Regions from separate parts of the Homo sapiens genome. Here regions 2, 3, 4, 5 and 6 are each linked to region 1. Evidence: promoter capture Hi-C in human tissues and cell types (Jung and others, 2019). All regions are on one chromosome and are shown on one strand. Each heading gives the region's core, a stretch centred on a gene start or on the middle of the fragment in contact. The rest is flanking DNA. Distances are from core to core; before and after follow the strand shown. Region 1 holds the start of ZNF44 (zinc finger protein 44). Region 2 holds the start of JUNB (JunB proto-oncogene, AP-1 transcription factor subunit). Region 3 holds the start of ZNF440 (zinc finger protein 440). Region 4 overlaps ZNF69 (zinc finger protein 69). Region 5 holds the start of ZNF700 (zinc finger protein 700). Region 6 overlaps ZNF700 (zinc finger protein 700).

Evidence for each region. The method cuts DNA at HindIII sites, captures the fragments that hold promoters and counts their contacts. A contact is called where the count stands out against the background at its distance.
Region 2: a contact is called between the fragment with the promoter of JUNB here and the fragment with the promoter of ZNF44 in region 1, in 1 of the 25 tissues and cell types used here (aorta).
Region 3: a contact is called between the fragment with the promoter of ZNF440 here and the fragment with the promoter of ZNF44 in region 1, in 4 of the 25 tissues and cell types used here (H1 embryonic stem cells, aorta, lymphoblastoid cells and 1 more).
Region 4: a fragment that was not itself captured here is called in contact with the fragment with the promoter of ZNF44 in region 1 in 4 of the 25 tissues and cell types used here (aorta, dorsolateral prefrontal cortex, stomach and 1 more).
Region 5: a contact is called between the fragment with the promoter of ZNF700 here and the fragment with the promoter of ZNF44 in region 1, in 1 of the 25 tissues and cell types used here (mesenchymal stem cells).
Region 6: a contact is called between a fragment that was not itself captured here and the fragment with the promoter of ZNF44 in region 1, in 4 of the 25 tissues and cell types used here (dorsolateral prefrontal cortex, lymphoblastoid cells, pancreas and 1 more).

What each region holds. Positions count from the first base shown.
Region 1 is chr19:12,293,055-12,296,858 of GRCh38, reverse strand. It overlaps ZNF44 (zinc finger protein 44), which reads left to right and starts at 1,976. Exons shown (of 4, transcript NM_016264.4): 1 at 1,976-2,167. The coding sequence starts at 2,165. RefSeq lists an enhancer at 1,592-1,641 and a silencer at 2,192-2,421. The HindIII fragment of the contact is 22,646 bases long and covers 1-3,804 here.
Region 2 is chr19:12,789,681-12,793,484 of GRCh38, reverse strand. It overlaps JUNB (JunB proto-oncogene, AP-1 transcription factor subunit), which reads right to left and starts at 1,999. Exons shown (of 1, transcript NM_002229.3): 1 at 170-1,999. The coding sequence starts at 1,713. The coding sequence ends at 670. It also overlaps a transcript of HOOK2 not described here. RefSeq lists enhancers at 1-10, 1-136, 31-150, 2,025-2,636, 2,937-3,436, silencers at 1,201-1,310, 1,681-2,260, 3,121-3,804 and cis regulatory regions at 1,740-2,294, 3,134-3,654. The HindIII fragment of the contact is 17,444 bases long and covers 1-3,804 here.
Region 3 is chr19:11,812,161-11,815,964 of GRCh38, reverse strand. ZNF440 (zinc finger protein 440) reads right to left here and starts at 1,692. Exons shown (of 4, transcript NM_152357.3): 1 at 1,515-1,692. The coding sequence starts at 1,517. RefSeq lists silencers at 1,288-1,357, 1,778-1,857, 3,592-3,701. The HindIII fragment of the contact is 18,958 bases long and covers 1-3,804 here.
Region 4 is chr19:11,906,149-11,909,952 of GRCh38, reverse strand. ZNF69 (zinc finger protein 69) reads right to left here. Exons shown (of 4, transcript NM_001364730.1): 4 at 3,257-3,804. Among named protein-coding and RNA genes, the nearest start is that of ZNF700, 17 kb to the left of the region's middle. The HindIII fragment of the contact is 5,350 bases long and covers 1-3,804 here.
Region 5 is chr19:11,923,269-11,927,072 of GRCh38, reverse strand. ZNF700 (zinc finger protein 700) reads right to left here and starts at 1,966. Exons shown (of 4, transcript NM_144566.3): 1 at 1,800-1,966. The coding sequence starts at 1,862. It also overlaps a transcript of ZNF69 not described here. RefSeq lists a silencer at 1,504-1,703 and enhancers at 2,094-2,203, 2,254-2,303, 1,751-2,323, 2,480-3,269, 3,270-3,804. The HindIII fragment of the contact is 4,963 bases long and covers 1-3,804 here.
Region 6 is chr19:11,941,568-11,945,371 of GRCh38, reverse strand. All of the region lies in intron 1 of ZNF700 (zinc finger protein 700), which reads right to left. It also overlaps a transcript of ZNF69 not described here. Among named protein-coding and RNA genes, the nearest start is that of ZNF700, 18 kb to the right of the region's middle. The HindIII fragment of the contact is 3,474 bases long and covers 48-3,521 here.

The DNA.
Region 1 (3,804 bases), core at 727-3,226:
CTCTGTCTTCTCTTTCCCTTAATCCTGGGCTCTTAGGCACAGCTAACTTTGGAAGATAGCTTAAATGATAATAAGCCTTCCCCAAAACTCAACTGCCTTTGTAAAACGAATGAATGGCCATCAGGCTGAGGGATGAAAGGAATCGGAATGCTGCTAAAGTGTAGACATAGATTGCCAGCTATTTCTGCAGATAACACCACTATTGTAGATTAGCATTTGTAGACGTATTTTCAGTTTTTGTTTGTTTGTTTGTTTTTTTTTTGCATGTCTGACACCACCTGCACCTGCCAACTCTGCTCCTGTGGCCCCAACCAGAAGTGATTCAGCATAACAGGATAGGTTTTTTTTTTTTTTGTCTTTTTTTTGTTTTTTTTTGAGACGGAGTTTCGCTCTTGTTGCCCAGGCTGGAGTGCAAAGGCACGATCTCGGCTTGGCGCGATCTCAGCTCACCGCAACCTCCACCTCCCGGGTTCAAGTGATTCTCCCGCCTTAGCCTCCCAGGTAGCTGGGATTACAGACATGTGCCACCACGCCCAGCTAATTTTGTATTTTTAGTAGAGACGAGCTTTCTCCATGTTGGTCAGGCTGGTCTCAAACTCCCGACCTCAGGTGATCCGCCCGCCTGGGCCTCCCAAAGTTCTGGGATTACAGGTGTGAGCCACCGGGCCCGGCCTCTTTTTTTCTTTTTTAAATATGTAGCAGTACAAGCCGCAGACAAGAACCCCTCAGACACCGAGTTGTGGAAGGAAAGGGCTTTATTCAGCTGGGCTGGGAGCATCGGCGGACTCACGTCTCCAAAAACCGAGCTCCCCGAGTGAGCAATTCTTGTCCCTTTTAAGGGCTTACAACTAGGAGTCCGCGTGAGAGGGTCGTGATTGATGGAGCAAACAGTGGGTACGTGACTGGGGGCTGCATGCACCGGTAACCAGAACTGAACAGAACAGGACAGGGATTTTCACAGTGCTTTTCCATACAATGTCTGGAATCATAGATAACACAGTTAGGTCAGAGGTTGATTTTTAACTACCCAGCCCAGGGCACAAGCCGGGTTATCTGCCTGTGGATTTCATTTCTGCCTTTTAGTTTTTACTTCTTCTTTGGAGGCAGAAATTGGGCATAAGACAATATGAGGGGTGGTCTCCTCCCTTATAGTATAGAGACGGAGTTTCACTCTATGTCCAGGCTGGTCTTGAACTACTGGCCTCAAGCGATCCTCCCACCTAGGCCTCCCAAAGTATTGGGATTACAGCGGTGAGCCACCACGCACTGCCAAGAGGACAGATTCCATCCCCAGTGATTTCATCCCCACCCCAACCAGTCAGTAGCAAGCCTAGCTACCTCCACCCTTTCTCCCAAACTGCCCTTGAAAAACCCCTACCAGAGGACCTTGGATGAGAATAATTTGAGTAGTAACTCCGTCTCTCACGTATCGTAGCTGGCCTAGTGTTTATTAAACTTTTTTTTTAACTGCAATACCGTGGTCTTTATTTGCGTAGCGCGCAGAAAGAACCCATCCAGCGCTTATAGTGGAAGAAAGGCTTGACCTTGCAGGCGACAGCCTCATCCCAAATTCCTGGTCCCTGGAGGACATCAGCACCACCCCCCCACCCACCCACCCCCTGTCCCCCGCTGCTACAGTGTGGCCTGTGTGGCCTCGGCTGCCCTCCTGCTCTGAGGCCAAGGGATGGCTCCACTGGACAGTGAGTCTGGGATTCCTTGCACACAATTGTTCAGGAGGAAGAAGCAAAAAGGGCCCACTGCGTACAGGTAGGAAATTCCGCTTTAAGGCAAACGTTTCCCGGGACGGGTCGGGTCACAACGCAGGGAGGAAGCCCGCCCTGCCAGGGGCCGGGTCTGGAACCTGTTCATCCGGCTGCACTCAGCACTGTGAGATCGCTTCTTCTGTCACTCAGTGCCCAGGAGGCGGGACCTGGAGGGCTACCCAATCAAAGTCGTGGGCGGGTTCCTGAGAATTGTCAATCAGGCGCGAGGCAGAGAGGAGGGTGTGACGTTCCAGGAGCTAGTGGCCTCTTCACCCTGGTGACCTCTGTTCCGTATTCTGTCACTGAGAGACGCCCTGGGACATCTGTGGTGGCTTTTGTCGCGCTGGGACCTACCCTGACTACGGGAGTTGGGAGGACCCGGGACACCGCACAGCCGGGAAATGGTGAGTGTGCGGGGCCCGGCGTCCTGAGGCAGGGCGAAGGGCTGGTCGGAACCAGTCGGAACCGGCTGTGGCGGGACCCGGGCCTCGCCGCAGCGTCTTTGGGGTCTGGGACCTGAGCGCCCCCTGCGCACCTCGGTCCTCGGTCCGTTTGGCCGCAGGGTGGGGCTGGGCCGGCAGCCGGGACCCCGGGCGTCCTGTCCCGTCCCTGAGCTGCGACTGCGGCCCCGGCCCCGGCGCCCCTCTCTGGGCAGCTCCGCGCCCTCAGCCCCGCTTCTCCCCAGATTGTGCGGCGGAACCAGTACAGGTTCGCAGCCCAAGTCACTGCACCCGGACGCCGAGGGCTGCAGCAGAAACGGTTTAATAGGAGAGGACACCCTAGATCCGCCTCCGTGAGAGGTTTGAGGATGGGGTGTTTAGGGGTCTGGACGGGGGTGGTTGGGATGTGGGGTCGCTGGTTGGTGGAGAAGTGAGGGGTGAATCTTGGGACTGGAGGTGAAGAAACCGCATTCTGCTGCTGAGTGGGCTTCCTTGTGGGGTCTTCAGCCTGCTTGGCGCCAGCCTTTCCGCTGGAATTCAAGATCTGAGAAAGAACTTAGACGACTCTTGAGCAACTCTCAGAGATCTTATCCCCAGGCCAATGGGGAAGCCGGCGGTCAGCGTCTGCTGTGACCTGACTCTCAGGGAGGCGGCTTCCTGTGAAGCAGCGGGGCTGAGGGCACCTGGTTAATATCTAACTGCAATCTCGCCTCCAGCCTGGCTCGCAGTTCCTGTGAGCCCGGTGAGGAGGCTGCACGGTGACGGTGGGAGGGTCACTAGGCACAAACCAGACTCGTGTGTGGGGTTTGTGTGTGGGAGGAGCTGTGGTCTCTGTGCTCTTCAGTCCTTTCTTTCCAAGGGCGACCATTTCTCCTCCGAGGCTTTCAAAGATATTGGCATCAGGGTCTTTGAGACCTGTCCCTTCATCCTAACTCCTCTTGGGGCTAACAGTAAATCTTTTGGTTTCCAGAGCCTTCCATATGCTAACTTCACTCCTCAATTCCCAGTAACGTTATGAACCCTTTGTCAGCAAGACGATATTTCAAATAGACACAGAATTTTGTCGTTTGTTTTCAGATAGCAATGTATGGCTCTTTTTAAACAGATTTATTTTGTTTTCCTTAACATTTCACATGTGAGGAAGAAGAGAATAACCACCTGACACTGCTGTAAAAAAAACCAAACCTTTGTGCCTCTTTTATCTCCCCTAGGCACAGATGCCTTCTCAGTATGTCCTTTACAGGGTGATGTGACCTCAGCCCACCCTGTATCTTTTCCAGGCCCTGTGTTATGGAACTTTCTGGGGCTACCCTAAGATGCTGGAAGCTGCCAATCTCATGGAGGGCCTAGTGGATATCGGCCCTTGGGTCACTCTTCCCAGAGGACAGCCTGAGGTGTTGGAGTGGGGCCTCCCAAAGGATCAGGTGGATGCACTGGGGTGGGAGGAATCTTCTGGTATATCATTCCTGTAAAAAGCTAACCCCTGGGCTGGGCGCGGTGGCTCACGCCTGTAATCCCAGCACTTTGGGAAGCCGAGGCGGGCGGATCACCTGAGGTCAGGGGTTCAAGACCACCCTGGCCAACATGGTGAAACCCCATCT
Region 2 (3,804 bases), core at 750-3,249, 500 kb before region 1:
GGGGACGCGGGAAGGGTGGGACTCCTGGGCTGGGACCACAAGATGCCTGCGCCGAACCGACGAGGGGGACACATACAGGACCGAGCCACCAACAGCACTGAGCTGGGGGCAAACCAGTGCTTTTTTTTTTCCCCCCGCCCTCCCAGCTTGGAAAAAAAGACAACAGAAATTAATAAAGAACCAATTTTTTTTTTACTTAAATAGATTCAATAAAAAGAACAAACACACACAAACACAAACACGTCTTAAAATAAACTCTTTAGAGACTAAGTGCGTGTTTCTTTTCCACAGTACGGTGCAGAGAGGGGAGGGCAGGGGGCGGGGGTCCCCTTCCCAATGTCCCCGCGGGCTTGAGTACCAGGCGGCGGGGCCAGCTCCGCCGCGATCGCCCCCTCTTCCCCTCCCTGTTAAATACACAAATATATTATATTCAATATGAATCGAGTCTGTTTCCAGCAGAAAAAAAACATACAAAAAAAAGTGGAAGGGGGGGCTTGTAAACGTCGAGGTGGAAGGACTGGGCGCAGGGTAGGAGGGCCGGAGTCCAGTGTGGTTTGCGGCGCCCCTAGGTCCCAGGGTGGGTGCCCACCGCCTGCTCCCTGGACCCCAGTGGGAGGCGTGTGCCCAGCCGTCCAAGCGAGGGGGTGTCCGTAAAGGGGCAGGGGACGTTCAGAAGGCGTGTCCCTTGACCCCAAGCAGCAGCTGACAGCCGTTGCTGACGTGGGTCATGACCTTCTGTTTGAGCTGGGCCACCTGCTCCCGGAGGAGGCCGGCGGTACTCGACAGCCCCGCGTTCTCGGCCTTGAGCGTCTTCACCTTGTCCTCCAGGCGCGCGATGCGCTCCAGCTTCCGCTTCCGGCACTTGGTGGCCGCCAGCCGGTTCCGCAGCCGCTTGCGCTCCACTTTGATGCGCTCTTGGTCTTCCATGTTGATGGGGGACACCGGCGGCGTGGCGTCCCGGCTGCGCGCCTCCGGCACGGTCTGCGGTTCCTCCTTGAAGGTGGAGGCGCCGCGGCCCAAGCCCAGCTGCGCCGGGTGGCCACCGGCGAAGGGCGGCGCGTGTGGGAGGTAGCTGATGGTGGTCGTCGGGTACGAGCTCCCGGTCCCGACGGCAGCCCCGGCGCCTCCCGAGGACGCAGAGGCTGGGGAGTAGCTGCTGAGGTTGGTGTAAACGGGAGGTGGCTCCGGGCCGGCGTAGACGCCCCCGGGCCCAGCCGGGGGCCCCCCGGTAGCGCCCAGGGACACGTTGGGGGGTGTCACGTGGTTCATCTTGTGCAGATCGTCCAGGGCTTTGACAAAGCCGTCGGCGAAGCCCTCCTGCTCCTCGGTGACGCCGCCCCCTGCGCCCCCTGCACCTCCACCGCTGCCACCCCCGCGGGGGTAAAAGTACTGTCCCGGGGGTGTAGGCGTCGTCGTGATCACGCCGTTGCTGTTGGGGACAATCAGGCGTTCCAGCTCCGAAGAGGCGAGCTTGAGAGACGCGCCGGTGTCCGAGCCCTGACCAGAAAAGTAGCTGCCGCCACCGCCGCCCTCTGGGCCGGGTCCGCGAGCCCCAGGCGCTTTGAGACTCCGGTAGGGGTCGGCCAGGTTGACCGCCAGGCTCGGTTTCAGGAGTTTGTAGTCGTGTAGAGAGAGGCCACCAGGGGCCCGGCCGTATCCCGTAGCTGTGTATGAGTCGTCGTGGTAGAAGGGCTGTTCCATTTTAGTGCACATCCGGGCGGCCCAGGCGGTCTGGGGAGGGTCCCTGCGGGGCCGCTCCGGGCCTCGCTGCAGCGAGCGGCGAGCTCTCCGCTGCGGTGACCGGACTGGGTGCCTGGTCGCGCGTTCTCGGGGGCTGGCGCGGGCGGGTAGCAGCCAGCCGGCAGCTGTGCGCAAAAGCCCTGTCAGGCTTCCCGAGCCCCCGTCGCCCTCTCTGGCGCGATAGCTTTCCTGGCGTCGTTTCCCCCAGCTCCCAGCTCCCTGCTGGCTCCGAGGCTGGCCTGGCCGCTCTCAAGGTCCCAGCCGCTCAGCCTGAGCCACACGCCTTTATACCGCGCTAGTCAGCCACGGAAGTGCGCTCCGATTGGCCGTCGCCGGAGCCGGGCCCCCGCGCCCCCCTCCTCGAGCGTGGGGAAGGGGAGGAGGCGGCTCGCGTCACTGTCAGGAAGCGCGTGTCCTTGTAAACAGCGGCCACGGGCCGGGTGGCTCGGCGGGGCTGCAGGGGGAGGGGCTCAAAGGACCTCGGGGTACGCATGGAAGGAGGTGCTGGGGGGCCCAGGCACATGAGTGAGGGGTTTCAGGGAGGAGGATGATTTCCCTGGAGTCCACTGGGACAAATACCAGGACCTGGTACGCAGCAAGTGGGGTGAGGGTCCCAGTATGTGCGAAGAAACCCCTGAGGTACCCAGAATACGAGAGGGGTAGGAGGACTGACAATCCATTGGGAGACCCCAAAAAGCAGAAATGAGGGTTAAGCACTGTAAATCGGGAGGGTTAAGGAGACACCTGACCCAGGAATTGACTGGGGGTCCCGGGCTCAGAAGGATGCGGGACTGGAATTTTCACAGGACGGAGGAGGGGAGAGATCAAAAGGGGTGAGTGGGTGGAGCTGCATGACCCATTAAATTGCAAGAAATGAGTAGGGGTCCAGGAGCTCATGGGAGCTGAGTCCAGAGTCTGAGGCTCTCCCGTAAGCGGGAAGGAGGCATTAGGGGAAGTCTAGATATGCAGAAAGCTAGTAAGCGGCCTGGGGTACACTGAGGCAGGTAAAATATGCCAGGTAGAAGATGGAGACATGTCTGCCAGAAATTGGGGACCACTGGGGTCATCTGCTAGCCCGGATGAAGGAGAGAGTTAGAAGGGGCCGGACACATCTTCGGAGCAGAGAAGACAATAAGAGGGTACTCAGTTGACATGTGAGGAGGGGGCCTTGAGGGTCCCGCGCACCAGGACTGCTGGATCTTCCACGACTGCTGCTCCCCCTCGATGGTAACCTCTTAGTCATCTGTATTCTCTGTCCCCCATCCTAAAACCCTCCCCTATTGACCCTGGGCTTTGCCCAACACCGTGTCGGCTCCTAGAGCCTGGACCCAGCCCGACGGCTGGGGCGCGGTCGCCCAACCCCACTCCCTTCCTTAGAAACAGGCTGGGGAAAGAGCGCAGAGGCAGGAAGTGTGGCAACAGCCCCGGGGGAAGGAGCCCGGCCCTGTCTCCGTCACTCGGATCCTACGGGACCGTGCGCCCCGCCCTGGGTCCCGCCGCATCCTGCGCCTCGGAAGAGGAACCTGGGCGTGCGAGCCCCCGCGGAGGCCCGGGTGCTTGGAGCCCGCCCAGCCGCGGCAGCCTCCAGCCACCATCCTCTCCCCTCAAGCAATGGTTCCGCCCGCGGTGCCTGCAGGGGACCGCGGAGGCAGGCGGCTTGGGGAGTGTTCCATTGGCCCGACGGCGGGGGACGCAGCCGAGGAGCGGGGCCTGGTCGCCATGGCAACAGGCGGGAGTCCGCGGGCAGGACTGAGCGCGGGCCGGCCCCCGAAGTCTCTCCCCGCCGCCCATATTAGGGCACAGGAAGAGGTGGGACCAGCGCTGTCCTGGGGCCCCGAGCCAGAAGCGGGGAACCCGACTATCTGCCAGGTCCCAGGGCGCGCCTGGGCCCCCAGACTGCTAGTCCCGACCAGCCCCGACCGCCGCCCCCGGGGCCCCCACGGCCGCCTGGCCCGGCCCCGCCCCACCCCGCCGCTTTGGGGCTGCGTCCTGCCAGGCCCGGCCTGGCCCAACCCAGCCCGGCAGGTCCCCGCCTGCCCGCGGGCCTGGGTCGGACTTCGCCCC
Region 3 (3,804 bases), core at 443-2,942, 480 kb after region 1:
CTTTTTCCGTTGACAAACCACAAGCCAGGACTGGGTGTTTCTCATTCGTGAATCGTTGTTGTTGTTTTGAGATGGAGTCTGGCTCTGTTGCCAGGCTGGAGTGACGCCGTCTTGGCTGACTGCAACCGCCGCCTCCTGGGTTCAAGCAATTCTTCTGCCTCAGCCTCTCAAGTAGCTGGGATTACAGGCACGCGCCACCATGCCCAGCTAATTTTTGTATTTTTAGTAGAGATGGGGTTTCACCATGTTGGCCAGGCTGGTCTTGAACTCCTGACTTCCTGATCCGCCCGCCTCGGCCTCCCAAAGTGCTGGGATTACAGGCGTGAGCCACCGCGCCCGGCCCTAAACTCTTTAATTGTTAACGTACCTCAGTTTAATTTTTAACAGAAAAAAGTGGGCACTGGGGACCCCAAAGACCGCTACTCCTCCCACACGAACCTGTCAGAGATGATAAATTACTTTTCTAAAAGCTTTAGTAAGCTGTTCTTTGTTTCTTGAGACCGACTTCCTTGTCTCCTAGCTACCTGTTCTGTAAACAACCTTCCCGCTTTTGCCGCGCCCAGACAAGTCCAGATACGCCTTCCCGCCTAGTAACGGACAGTCCCTGTTCCTTCCCGTCTCATAGACCCTATTTAATTTGTGTGTGTGTGTGTGTGTGTGTGTGTGTGTGTGTGTGTGTGACGGAGTTGCCCAGTTGTCTCGCTCTGTTGCCCAGGCTGGAGTACAGTGGTGCGATCTCGGCTCACTGCAAGCTCCACCTCCCGGGTTCACGCCATTCTCCTGCCTCAGCCTCCCGAGTAGCTGGAACTACAGGCGCCCGCCACCATACCCAGTTAATTTTTTTGTATTTTTAGTGGAGACGGGGTTTCACCGTGTTAGCCAGGGATGGTCTCGATCTCCTGACCTCGCGATCCGCCTGCCTCGGCCTCCCAAAGTGCTGGGGTTACAGGCGTGACCCACCGCGCCTGGCCAGACCCTATTTAATTTTAAACCTTAGCCTATCGAGTTAGTTTAGATTGTGAGGTCCAACCCTAGCCAATGAGGAAAGGACACAGAAGTGCTAGAAACTGCGTTAAGGAGAAAAACCCCTGCCCTACCCCGCTCGCTGTGCTCTTGTGACTGGCGCAAGCTGCACCCTTGTGTAGAAATAAATTTGCTTTGCTGAGGAATTTTCTGCCTAGATGCTGGTTTTCTTTGCGGCACCGGGCACTTGTTTCTAACAAACCCCATATCCGAGGCGGGATCCCCCCATATCCCTCCCGTGGCCCCCGCATAATGTGGGGAGACGCGGAGCTGCCCAGATTAGGCTCCGGAGCCGGGGCCGCAGTCGCCGTGAAGGGACGGGACAGGAGGCCCGGGGTCCCGGCTGCCGGCCCAGCCCCACCCTGCGACCGAGGGGACTCGCGTCCACGACCCCGGAGTCGCCGCGTGGAGGCCCGGGTCCCGCCTCAGCCGGTTCCGGCCGATTCCAGCCCCTCTCCCAGTCGCCCGGACGCCAGCCCCCTCACACACACCATTTCTCGGCTTCCAGGGTGTTCCGGCGTCCTCTGCGTGGCTCCCGCGACTAGTGTAGGTCACAGTGCAGGTTACAGAGCGACAGAAGCTCTGGTGGAGGCACCTAGTCCCTCTCGAAGCAAGAAAGCCGAGATCCTGACCGCTGTCGGCGCAGCACTAAAGGAATGGACGGAGGGCGACTGTCCCTTCCCCCTTCCCCGGATGGACAGTTGACAGGGCCCCGCCCCAGCACCCCTGATTGGATGGGGCGCCAGGCCCCGCCTCCTCCGTGCTGAGTGACAGCAGAAGCCCTGGGTAACCGGGTCCTGCAGATCATGTCTGACTTGTTCTGGCCACAGCGTCTCTGAGCGAGCAGCCTCTCTAAGCGAGCAGCCTCTCTAAGCGAACAGCCTCTCTAAGCGAGCGCCTTCCTTGAGCCCTGGTCATCAGATATTTGCATTTCAAGGCGACTTGCTCCTTATTGTTAGAAGAGGCACTGTTAGCTTCCTCATTCAAGGGGCTGTCCCTGCTCCTTCCTTCTGCACGGGATCACAAGTGTGTGCAGGGCATTTCAGACTCAGTGTTCAATGGAGAGATACGCTTGCCTCAGAGCAGGAGGGGAGCCCAGACCAGGCAAGGCACGACTGCACCAGGAGAGAGAGGCAGATGTCTTCCAGCGTGCGGGAAATGGGATGAGGCATGGCCAAGGCTTCCTCACACTGCTATGGACTCCAGCAAGGTTTTCCTTGTAAGGGAGCTAACCAAGCCAGAACTTATTAAAGATTTAGAGGCTCTCAGTACTATGTATATCTATCCCTGGTGCATTGACAGTGACTGAAGACCCATTTTTCAGGACATGCTGTGTAGGACTGAGCCAGGGAACATGATATAGCATGGCACTTTTATCTCACATATAACCCCCAAGGAGCAGGGTTAACTGAAATGAAAGATGGTCTCAGGGGAAGCTGTAAATGAGAAATTCTGTCATAGAAATTATGATTTAGGCAGGCCGGGCGCGGTGGCTCATGCCTGTAATCCCAGCACTTTGAGAGGCTGAGGCAGGTGGATCACGAGGTCAGGAGTTCAAGACCAGCCTGGCCAACATGGTGAAATCCTATCTCTACTAAAAATACAAAAATTAGCCAGGAATGGTGGCGCATGCCTGTAATCCCAGCTACTTGAAAGGCTGAGGCAGGAGAATTGCTTGAACCGGGAGGCAGAGTTTGCAGTGAGCCAAGATCGTGCCACTGCATTCCAGCCTGAGACACAGTGAGACTCCATCTCAAAAAAAAAAAAATTATGTTTTAGCCATCTTTTTTTGAGACGGGGTCTCACTCTGTCGCCCAAGCTGGAGTGCAGTGGTGCGATGGCTACTCAATGCAGCCTCAACCTCCCAGACTCAAGCAATCCTCCCACCTCAGCCTCCTAAGTAGGTGGGACTACAAGTGCCTGCCACCATGCCTGGCTAGTTTTTTATTTTTGGTAGAGATGAGGTCTCATTCGGTTGTTCAGGTTGATCTCAAACTCCTGAGCTTAAGTGATCCTCCAGCCTCAGCCTCCCAAAGTGTTGGGATTACAGGTGTGCGCCTGGCCTCTTGGGCATCTTCATTGCTCCACACCTTACAATGATAAATTCAATATTCTGTGAATATTTCCTGGAGAAATTAGCACAGCCATAACTTGTGATAAGGTAAATCAGGTGTTGAAATTTGAACATTCCTGGAAACTTCATTTAATAAACCTAATTTTGCTTATGTGTGAAAGTATTCATACATATTCATTGTTCAGACACAGATAACCATGGCAAGATGAGGTGCTATGAAAAACTATGTTGGGACAACAGGTACTATCAAGGATTATCACTGGCAAACCGGGACACATGGTCAGATGATTTCTGAGGCAGTTTTGTACCTTATGTAAAGGTAGAAAGTGTTGGAACTAGAAGACATCGAGCTGGAGTCAGTTGCAGAATTGATGCTTTGCTTGGCATGTGGGGGACACTTCTCAAATATTTGCATTTGGTCACAGAAGTATTCCGTGTTGTGTGAGAGCAGAGGAAAAAGAGTAGACTTTTTTTCCACTCTTAAGTCTCAGCACAACTCAGAAATCCAGTCCCCCAGACAGGATGTGTGGATGTTAAAGTCGCCCTCACCACAAGAGGGAGCTTCATTGACTTCCCCTATCTGGAAAATGGCTCAAAGGTGTTTTCTAAAAGACTTTTTAATGTAAGGCATATCAGTTATTAGAAATAAAGGTAGGACAGGTGTGGTGGCTCACACCAGTAATACCAGCATTTTGGAAGGCCAAGGT
Region 4 (3,804 bases), core at 415-2,914, 390 kb after region 1:
AGCTTAAGGAGATTTTGGGCTGAGATGATAGGGTTTTCTAAATATACAATCATGTCATCTGCAAACAGGGACAATTTGACTTCCTCTTTTCCTACTTGAATACCCTTTAGTTCTTTGTCCTTCCTGATTGCCCTGGCCAGAACTTCCAACACTATGTTGAATAGGAGTGGTGAGAGAGGGCATCCCTGTCTTGTGCCAGTTTTCAAAGGGAATGCTTCCAGTTTTTGCCCATTCAGTATATGATATTGACTGTAGGTTTGTCATAAATAGCTCTTATTATTTTGAGATACATCCCATCAATACCCAGTTTATTGAGAGTTTTTAGCATAAAGGGCTGTGGAATTTTGTCGAAGGCCTTTTCTGCATCTATTCAGATAATCTTGTGGTTTTTGTCTTTGGTTCTGTTTATATGATGGATTACGTTTATTGCTTTGCATATGTTGAATCAGCCTTGCATCCCAGGGATGAAGCCAACTTGATCGTGGTGGATAAGCTTTTTGATGTGCTGCTGGATTTGGTTTGCCAGTATTTTATTGAGGATTTTTGCATCGATGTTCATCAGGTATATTGGTCTAAAATTCTTTTTGTTGTGTCTCTGCCAGGCTTTGGTATCAGGATGTTGCTGGCCTCATAAAATGAGTTAGGGAGGATTCCCTCTTTTTCTATTGATTGGAATAGTTTAAGAAGGAATGGTACTAGCTCCTCTTTGTACCTCTGGTAGAATTCAGCTGTGAATCCATCTGGTCCTTGACTTTTTTTGGTTGGTAGTCTATTAATTATTGCCTCAATTTCAGAGCCTGTTATTGGTCTATTCAGGGATTCGACTTCTTCCTGGTTTAGTCTTGGGAGGGTGTATGTGTCCAGGAATTTATCCATTTCTTCTAGATTTTCTAGTTTATTTCCATAGAGGTATTTATAGTACTCTCTGATGGTAGTTTGTATTTCTGTGGGATCGGTGGTGATATCCCCTTTATCATTTTTTATTGCATCTATTTGATTCTTCTCTCTTTTCTTCTTTATTAGTCTTGCTGGCGGTCTATCAATTTTGTTGATCTTTTCAAAAAAACAGCTCCTGGATTCACTGATTTTTTGAAGGGTTTTTTCTGTCTCTGTCTCCTTCAGTTCTGCTCTGATCTTAGTTATTTCTTGCCTTCTGCTAGCTTTTGAATGTGTTTGCTCTTGCCTCTCTAGTTCTTTTAATTGTGATGTTAGGGTGTCAATTTTACATCTTTCCTGCTTTCTCCTGTGGGCATTTAGTGCTATAAATTTCCCTCTACAAACTGCTTTAAATGTGTCCCAGAGATTCTGGTATGTTGTGTCTTTGTTCTCATTGGTTTCAAAGAACATCTTTATTTCTGCCTTCATTTGTTATGTACCCAGTAGTCATTCAGGAGCAGGTTGTTCAGTTTCCATGTATTTGAGTGGTTTAGAGTGAGTTTCTTAATCCTGAGTTCTAGTTTGATTGCTCTGTGGTCCGAGAGACAGTTTGTTATAATTTCTATTCTTCTACATTTGCTGAGGAGTGCTTTACTTCCAACTATGTGGTCAATTTTGGAATAAGTGTGATGTGGTGCTGAGAAGAATGTATATTCTGTTGATTTGGGGTGGAGAGTTCTGTAGATGTCTATTAGGTCCTCTTGGTGCAGAGCTGAGTTCAATTCCTGTATATCCTTGTTAACTTTCTGTCTCATTGATCTGTCTAATGTTGACAGTGGGATGTTAAAGTCTCCCATTATTATTGTGTGGGAGTCTAAGTCTCTTTGTAGGTCTCTAAGGACTTGCTTTATGCATCTCAGTGCTCCTGTATTGGGTGCATAAATATTTAGGATAGTTAGCTCTTCTTGTTGAATTGATCCCTTTACCTTTATGTAATGGCCTTGTCTCTTTTGATCTTTGTTGGTTTAAAGTCTGTTTTATCAGAGACTAGGATTGCAACCCCTGCTTTTTTTGTTTGTTTTCCATTTGCTTGGTAGATCTTCCTCCATCCCTTTATTTTGAGCCTATGTATGTCTCTGCACGTGAGATGGGTCTCCTGAATACAGCACACTGATGGGTCTTGATTCTTTATCCAATTTGCCAGTCTGTGTCTTTTAATTGGAGCATTTAGCCCATTTACATTGAAGGTTAATATTGTTATGTGTGAATTTGATCCAGTCATTATGATGTTAACTGGTTATTTTGCTCGTTAGTTGATACAGTTTCTTCCTAGCCTCAATGGTCTTTACAATTTGGCATGTTTTTGCAGTGGCTGGTACCGGTTGTTCCTTTCCATGTTTAGTGCTTCCTTCAGGAGATCTTTTACAGCAGGCCTGGTGGTGACAAAATCTCTCAGCATTTGAATCTGTAAAGGATTTTATTTCTCCTTCACTTATGAAGCTTAGTATGGCTGGATATGAAATTCTGGGTTGAAAATTCTTTCCTTTAAGAATGTTGAATATTGGCCCCCACTCTTTTCTGGCTTGTAGAGTTTCTGCCAAGAGATCCGCTGTTAGTCTGACGGGCTTCCCTTTGTGGGTAACCCGACCTTTCTCTCTGGCTGCCCTTAACATTTTTTCCTTCATTTCAACTTTGGTGAATCTGACAATTATGTGTCTTGGAGTTGCTCCTCTCGAGGAGTATCTTTGTGGCGTTCTCTGTATTTCCTGAATTTGAATGTTGGTCTGCCTTGCTAGGTTGGGGAAGTTCTCCTGAATAATATCCTGAAGAGTGTTTCCCAACTTGGTTCCATCCCTGTCACTTTCAGGTACACCAATCAGACATAGATTTGGTCTTTTCACATAGTCCCATATTTCTTGGAGGCTTTTTCATTTCTTTTTACTCTTTTTTCTCTAAACTTCTCTTCTCACTTCATTTCATCCATTTGATCTTCAATTACTGATACCTTTTCTTCCACTTGATTGAATCAGCTACTGAAGCTTGTGCATGCATCACATAGTTCTCGTGCCATGGTTTTCAGCTCCATCGGGTCATTTAAGGTCTTCTCTACACTGTTTATTCTAGTTAGCCATTTTGTCTAATCTTTTTTCAAGGTTTTTAGCTTCTTTGTGATGGGTTCGAACATCCTCCTTTAGCTTGGAGAAGTTTGTTATTACCGATCATCTGAAGCCTTCTTCTCTCAGCTCGTCAAAGTCAAAGTCCAGCTTTGTTCCATTGCTGGCGAGGAGCTGCGTTCCTTTGGAGGAGAAGAGGCGCTCTGATGTTTAGAATTTTCAGCTTTTCTGCTCTGGTTTCTCCCCATCTTTGTGGTTTTATCTACTTTTGGTCTTTGATGATGGTGATGTACAGATGGGTTTTGGTGTGGTTGTCCTTTCTGTTTGTTAGTTTTCCTTCTAACAGTCAGGACCCTCAGCTGAGGTCTGTTGGATTTTGCTTGAGGTCCACTCCAGACCCTGTTTGCCTGGGTATCACCAGCAGGGGCTGCAGAACAGCAAATATTGCAGAACGGCAAATGTTGTTGCCTGATCCTTCCTCTGGAAGCTTCGTCACAGAGGGGCACACGGCCGTATGAGGTGTCAGTTGGCCCCTACTGGGAAGTGCCTCCCAGTTAGGCTACTTGGAGATCAGGGACCCACTTGAGGAGGCAGACTGTCCATTCTTAGATCTCAAACTCCATGCTGGGAGGACTGCTACTCTCTTCAAAGCTGTCAGACAGGGACATTTAAGTCTGCAGAAGTTTCTGCTGCCTTTTGTTCAGCTATCCAGAATGCATTCTTATGTGTGCTTGTGTCCTTTACTGAATTCGAAGGTTCTGGGCAGACCTGAAGGGTTTCCCACATTCTTTACATTCATGGTTTCTCTTGATTG
Region 5 (3,804 bases), core at 717-3,216, 370 kb after region 1:
CCAGAGTAGCTTTCAATAAACTCTCTTCTCACTGCACTTTGTGACTCGTCTTGAATTCCTTCCTGTGTGAGATTCAAGAACTCTCCTGGGGTCTGATCAGGACCTCTTTTCCTGGTAATACAAGCAAGAACTTAACTTCCAGTTTTGGAGTACTGAGTCTATTTCCCTAGAGTCTGTGTTTTTCCCAAATGGGCCACTGCTATCCTTCCGCTTGAATAAACTCTTCCAACTGAAATCTTGACCTTTCTATTATTTCGGAGTGACAAGTCCAAATAAGGCAACTGCATCTCTGCAACCAATCAAGCATTTATCTGGTTTGTCTCCTCACGTAACTTATAAAAGCTTACCCCTAAACTGGTAAACTAAAAATAAAAACATACCTCTGGCCCGGCGAGATGGCTCACATCTGTAATCCCAGCACTTTGGGAGGCTGAGGTGGGTGGATCACTTGAGGTCAGGAGTTCGAGACCAGCCTGGCCAACATGGTGAAACCCCATCTCTACTAAAAATACAAAAATTAGGAGGGCATAGTGGTGCATGCCTGCAATCCCAGCTACTCAGGAGGCTGAGGCAGGAGAATCACTTGAACCCGGAAGGTGGAGGTTGCAGTGAGCCGAGATCAGGCCATTGCACTCCAGTCTGGGCGACAGGAGACTCCGTCTCAAATAAAAACAAAGTACCTTTCCAGCTAAGTGAAGTGACCGGCTCTTGGCCAACAGGACCCGCAAAAAACCCTGAAAATTGAGTGCCTCTGTATGACAGGATGGGAGGTGAGACAGGTCTCCTTATACCCTCTCCCACACATTCATGTAAAAATAGATAGAATGGAAAAACAGACTGCTTGTGGCAAGAAGATACTAACTTACAAACAAAACCTAAGGCCACGCAAGGCAAAAGTAAAGTCACGCCTCAGAATTCATAAAATCTAGAGAAACAGGTCTGTTTTCTGGCTGGGATGGAATCAAGTGGCAGATAACAGACCCCCTTCCTTCCTACCTCCTCCAAACTTTAGACAAACTTCACACTCTCAACCAGCTGCCACCTACAGAATCCCTCAACCACCTGTGCCTTCTAACCCCCCTTCCACAGGTCCCACCCTTTCTGCCAATGGAACTTACACCTTTCAGGCACTGATTCATCATTTTCCCTGCAATTCCTGTCTCTCTGAAATGAATAAAACCAAACTGTCTTGAGCCGCCTCGGGACCACTTACTCCAGGCTGCTTGGGGTTGTGTTTCCCTCGGCCAAGGTCTCTCCTATTCGGCTCTGAATAAACTTCTTTATTTTACATAGTTTGGCTTTTTCCGTTGACAAACCACAACCCAGGACGGGGTGTTTCTCATTCGTGAATCGCTGTTTGCTCAAATGAACTCTTTAATTGTTAACGTACCTCAGTTTAATTTTTAACAGGAGAAAGTGGGGACTGGGGGCCCCACAGACCACTGCTCCTCCCACGCACGAACCCCACACCCGAGTCAGGATGCCTCCATGACCCTCCCGTTGCTTCCGCACAATCTGGGGAGACGCGGGGCTGCGGGAGCGGAACTGCCCAGAGAGGGCTCCGGGGCAGGGGCCGCGGCCGCAGTCGCCGCGCAGGGACGGGACAGGACGCCCGGGTCCTGGCTGCTGGCCCAGCCCCGTCCAGCGGCCAAGGGGACCGAGGGCCGAACTGCTCAAGGAGGACTCGGTCCCAGACCCCGGAGTCGCCCACAGGGAGGCCCGGGTCCCGCCACAGCCGGTTCCCGCCTGTTCCAGGCAGCCCCTCCCCCGTCTCACGACATCTGGTCCCGCACACGCACCATTTCCCGGCTTTCAGATGTACCGGGGTCCTCTCTACAGCTCCTGTGACTACAGCAGGGCATAGCGCAGGCGACAGAGCGACAGAAGCCTGGGTACAGGCACCAGGTCCCTCTCGGGCTGGTCTGACCGGTTACCAACCGCCGCCCGCGCAGCGAGGAAGGTGAGGAAAGCGACCCCCTCCATTTCCGGATGAACTGTGGGCAGTGCCACGCCCCAGCACCTCTGATTGGATGAAATACTAGGTCCCGCCCCCCACATCTGAGTGACAGCTGAAGCCCTGGGTATCAGGCCCCGCAGAGCCAGACTGACGGATTCTAGCCACAGCTTCTCTAAGGGCGAGCTGCTTTCTGCACTCTGGTTATTGGATATTTGCATTTCAGCCAAACTTGCTATTGATAGAAGAGAACACTAGCGTCATCCTCACTCAAGGGACAGTCCCCGCTCCTTCGTTCTGCACGGGGTCACAGGAGTGTGCAGGGAATTTCAGACTCAGTGTCCATAGGAGCCAACTGCTGGCCTCAGAGCAGCAGGGGAACCGAGACCAGGCCAGGCACGACTGCACCAGGAGGAGAGGCATATGTCCTCGAGCGGGCCGGAATTGGGGATGAGGCGTGGCCAAGCCTTGCTCACACACCCCCATCCCCTTGTGAAAATGCTTCCTCCTTTCAGATCTTCATTTTCACCAGCAGGAAACTCTCACCAGGTTTTGTTTCTGACCTAAGTAAACTGTCAACTTCATGAACCCTTTATCCAGGTGACGCCACCAAACAATTCTGTCTCTAGCTCTAGCCTGATCTTCACACATTTTCTTTTCTTTCTTTCTTTTTTTTTTTTTTTTTTTGAGACGGAGTCTTGCTCTGTAGCCCAGGCTGGAGTGCAGTGGTGCGATCTCGACTCACTGCAAGCTCCGCCTCCCGAGTTCACGCCATTCTCTTACCTCGGCCTCCGGAGTAGCTGGGATTAAAGGCGCCCGCCACCACGCCCGGCTAATATTTTGTATTTTCAGTGGAGACGGGGTTTCACCGTGTTAGCCAGGATGGTCTCGATCTTCTGACCTCTTGATCCGCCCGCCTCGGCCCCGCAAAGTGCTGGGATTACAGGCGTGAGCCACCGCGCCCGGCCACACATTTTCTTTATCTATACAAATAACTCTGACCCCAACGACCCCATGCATGTCAAACCCCAAACCCTGCCCAGAAGACAGCTCCAGAGGTACAACACCAGAAAGGACAGAGACGCCACAAATGCGTCTGCACATGGGTCTTCTGCTTTCCAGGGCTCTGCAGCTTCTCGGAATCCACACCCTTTCTGGAGCTGCTCTGAGCAGCTGGAGGCCACTTGTAGAAGGGGGTGGGCTGCCCGCGAAGCCCCCAGGGAAACTCTCTTTCCCTCCCTTTGCAGGCTGCAGAGACTGTCCTCAACGTGGAATCACTGGCCTTGGGCTCTGCTGCCCCCTGCAGGTTATTCAGCTACTTCTCACCCCATCGATTAGTTTCGCGAGACAAACACCTTCAATCCCATTGTGTAAATAAGACACCAGCAGAGTCCCTGCTCTCCTCCTATGCTTATGTATAAAGTGGGGGAGGAAAAATCTAAGATAACTTAAGGGCATTTGAAAGACTTCCAGATCGCGGTGGAGGTGGCAGCTGAGGGACTCGCAGTCAATGACACTGCAGCACCTCCAGGCCAGGCTGGTGGGAGAGAGGGTGGAGAGCTGGAGATGGATGTGGATAGGTGGAGGGAGCTGCCCTGGGAACTGGGCTCTGCAGCAGTGCGGCTCTAGGGCCCGGAGCCCGGGAGAGCAGAGATGGGGGCTCCCAGGACAGGAAACTCAGGGAGGAGAGAGTCGGGTGGCTTCCATGGGACGGGGTGCTGTTGCAGCTTGTGTGAGCCAGTAGCTATCATAACTAAGCCCAATCGGGACGTGAAAACTTGGATTCCGTGGGAATTTATGAAGAGGAAGGCTCTGATGACAAAGAAGTCATCGATGAGGAGGGGGATGAG
Region 6 (3,804 bases), core at 535-3,034, 350 kb after region 1:
AGAAAGAAAGCAGGTCATCTGCAGCCTATTGCAACCTAAAACCAGAAGGCAGGTGAGAGAATTCTTAGGAGCAGTAGGGTTCTGCAGACTGTGGATCCCAAACTTTGCAGTACTGGCCAAACCTCTATATGGGGTCACAAAGAGGGGTGCTGGGAACCTTTTGAATGGGAATCCCAACAACAGTGAGCCTTTCATGAGTTAAAGGAAAAACTTATGTCAGTCCCAGCCCTGGGGCTACCTAATCTAACAAAGCCTTTTACACTGTGTCAGAAAAAGAAAAAAAGGCAGTTGGAGTTCTAACCCAGACTGTGGGGCCCTGGCCAAGGCCAGTGGCCTACCTTGTACCCACTTATTCTAAAGAAGAAAAGGACTTTCTCCAGGCAGAGGGAGGACAGGTGATGGAAGAAGGATGGATGTGGTTACTGGATGGGAGAGTAGCTGTGCCACAGCTGCTGGGAGCCACAGTCATACTGGCTGTGCATAAAACCACCCATCTAGGCCAGGAGTCACTTCAAAAGTTGTTAAGCCGGTACTTCTACATCTCACATTTATCAGCCCTTGCTGAAACAGTGGCACAGCGATGTATTACCTGCCAACAACACAATGCAAGGCAGGGTCCAACCGTCCCGGCTGGCATACAAGCTTATGGAGCAGCCCCCTTTGAAGATCTGCAGGTAGACTTCACAGAAATGCCAAAATGTGAAGATAACAAGTATTTACTAGTTCTTGTGTGTACATACTCTGGGTGGGTGGAAGCTTATCCAACGCGAACTGAGAAAGCTGGTGAAGTAACCCGTGTGCTTCTTCAAGATCTTATTCCTAGGTTTGAACTGCCCTTACGAATTGGCTCAGATAACAGGCCAGCGTTTGTGGCTGACTTGGTACAGAAGACAGCAAAGGTATTGGGGATCACATGGATACTGCATGCTGCCTACCAACCTCAGAGTTCCGGAAAGGTGGAGTGGATGAATTGGACTATCAAAAATAGTTTAGGGAAAGTGTGTCAAGAAACAGGATTAAAGTGTGTACAAGCTCTCCCTGTGGTATTAAGATTAAATTTACCCCTTCTAGAAAAACAGGATATTCCCCTTATGAAATATTATATCATAGCCCTCCTCCCATAGTATGGGGACTTCCAGGCACTCCCTGAGAATTAGGTGAAATTAAGTTACAGCGACAGCTACAGGCCTTACGAAAAATTACACGAACAATCTCAGCCTAGGTAAACGAGAAACGCCCCATTAGCTTATTCTCCCCAGTTCACCCTTTCTCCCCAGGTAATAGAGTGTGGATCAAGGACTGGAATGTAGCCCCCTTGTGCCCATGGTGGAAGGGACCACAGACCACTCACACCACCGTGAAGGTAGAGGGAATCCCGGCCTGGATCCACCACAGTCATGTAAAACCTGCAGCTCCTGGGAGGCAGGACCAAACCTGGAAAACCCCTGCAAAGTGACTCTGAAAAAGACGACAAGCCCTGCTCCTGTCACACCTGGAAGCTGACTGGTCTATGTGCGGCCAAAGCATGAGGAAACTCATCATGGGACTTATTCTCCTTAAAATTTGGACTTGTAGAATAAGGACTTCAACTGATTTTCCCCACATGGAAGATTGTTCCCAGTGTATTCATCAGGTTACTGAGGTAGGGCAACAAGTTAAAACAATCTTTCGGTTTTCTAGTTATTATGAATGCCTAGGAACTTTAAAAGGAACTTGCCTGTATAACACCACTCAGTACAAAGTGTGTAACCCAGGAAATGCCCGACCTGATGTGTACCATAACCCATCTGAGCCTCCCATGATCACAGTCTTTGAAATAAGATTTAAAAACTAGTTCTTTTCTAGGTAATAGAAGTAAAAAAAATAGCTAAAACAGAAAAAAAAGAGACCCCCATTTACATGCTCAACCGGATCATATGGTTACAAGCTATCTTAGAAATAATCACTACTAAAACTGGCAGAGCTTTAACTGTTTTAGCCCGGTAAGAAACCCAGATGAAAAATGCTATCTATCAAAATAGACTGGCCCTAGACTACTTGCTAGCAGCTAAAGGAGGGGTCTATGGAAAATTTAACCTAACCAATTGCTGTCTGCATATAAATAATCAAGGGCAAGTAGTCAAAAACATAGTTAAGGACATAACAAAGTTGGCACATGTGCCTGTACAGCTTTGGCATGGGTTTAATCCTAAATCTGTATTTGGAAAATGGTTTCCAGCACTAGGAGGATTTAAAACACTTATAATAGAAATAATAATAATAATAGAAACCTGCTTGTTACTCCCCTGCTTGCTACCTGTGCTCCTTCAAATAATGAGAAGCTTTGTCACTACCTTGGTCCACCAAAATGTTTCAGCACAAGTGTATTACATTAACCACTATTGATCTGTCTTGCAGGAAGACCTAGGTAGTAAGGATGAAAGTGAGAACTCCCATTAATAAGTGAGATTCTCAAAGGGGGGAATAAGGAAGGAGACCACCTCTCTTATTGTCTCATACCTCAGAACAAGAAAGAGGAAGCAAAAGTTAAAGGAAGGCAGAAATGAGATCAATAGTCAGACAGCCCGGTGCCACACCCCAGGCCTGGTAGTTAAAAATCAACTCCTGACCTAACCACTTGTATTATCTATAGATTCCAGACATTGTATGAGAAAGCACTGTGAAAGTCTTTCTGTTCTGCTCTGTCCTGTTACCGATGCATGCAGCCCCAATTACACACTCCATCCTTGTTTAATTGATCACGATCCTTTCATGTGGATCCCTGTGTAAGCCTTCAAAAGGGGCAGGAATTTCTCTCTCTCTGGGAGCTCGGTTTTTAAGACGCAAGTCTGCTGACGCTCCTGGCCGAATAAAGCCACTTCCTTCTCTAACCCAGTGTCTGAGAGGTTTTGTCTGCGGCTTGTCCTGCTACAAATCCAGGGAGAAAAACGAGCTGCCTGGGCTGTCCCTAATGTCTCTTTGGACTGTGGGTCTGTAGCACCTGTCATAACGGAGTCCTATGAATTAATAGGCAGAAAAAAGTTAACATTAGCAGTCCTGAGGCTGTGTTTCCTTGAAAATGCCTGTTCCCAAAGTGTAATCTTTGATGACATTGTTAGAGAAGGCAGATAGCTAGCCAAGAGCAGGAGGGGAAGTCCAGGGGAAAGCCCACACCCCCAGGGACCACCCAAAACAGGCATGCTAGATATAAGCAGAGAGGAGGGGAAACACCTAAGTAGAAAGAAACATCCATTATGATGCCCAGGAATCATTCACTTTGCAGTTATCCTGTCAGAATGCAGCTAGATAGATGCTGGTAAGAAGGGCAAAGGAAAGGGGACATTCCTAAGCAAAACCTGGCACCCTAAGTGCACAAGAGGCCAAACGAGAAACTCCTAAGAGATACCAGGTGTAATAAGCACAGATTCAACCACTATACAACCTTCCTGGGGTGGCAGTAATGAGCAATGCAGCCACCCACATATCCACTGACGGCTGAATGGATAAACAAAATGTGGTAAGTATATACATACTGAGAGGTGACAGCATGCTGGCAGTCCTCACAGCCCTCGCTCGCTCTTGGCGCCTCCCCTGCCTGGGCTCCCACTTTGGCGGCACTTGAGGAGCCCTTCAGCCCACTGCTGCACTGTGGGAGCCCCTTTCTGGGCTGACCAAGGCGGGAGCCGGCTCCCTCAGCTTGCAGGGAGGGGTGGAGGGAGAGGCGCGAGCGGGAACTGGGGCTGCGCGCGGCGCTTGCGGGCCAGCTGGAGTTCTGGGTGGGCGTGGGCTTGGCGGCCCCGCACTCGGAGCAGCCGGCCGACCCTG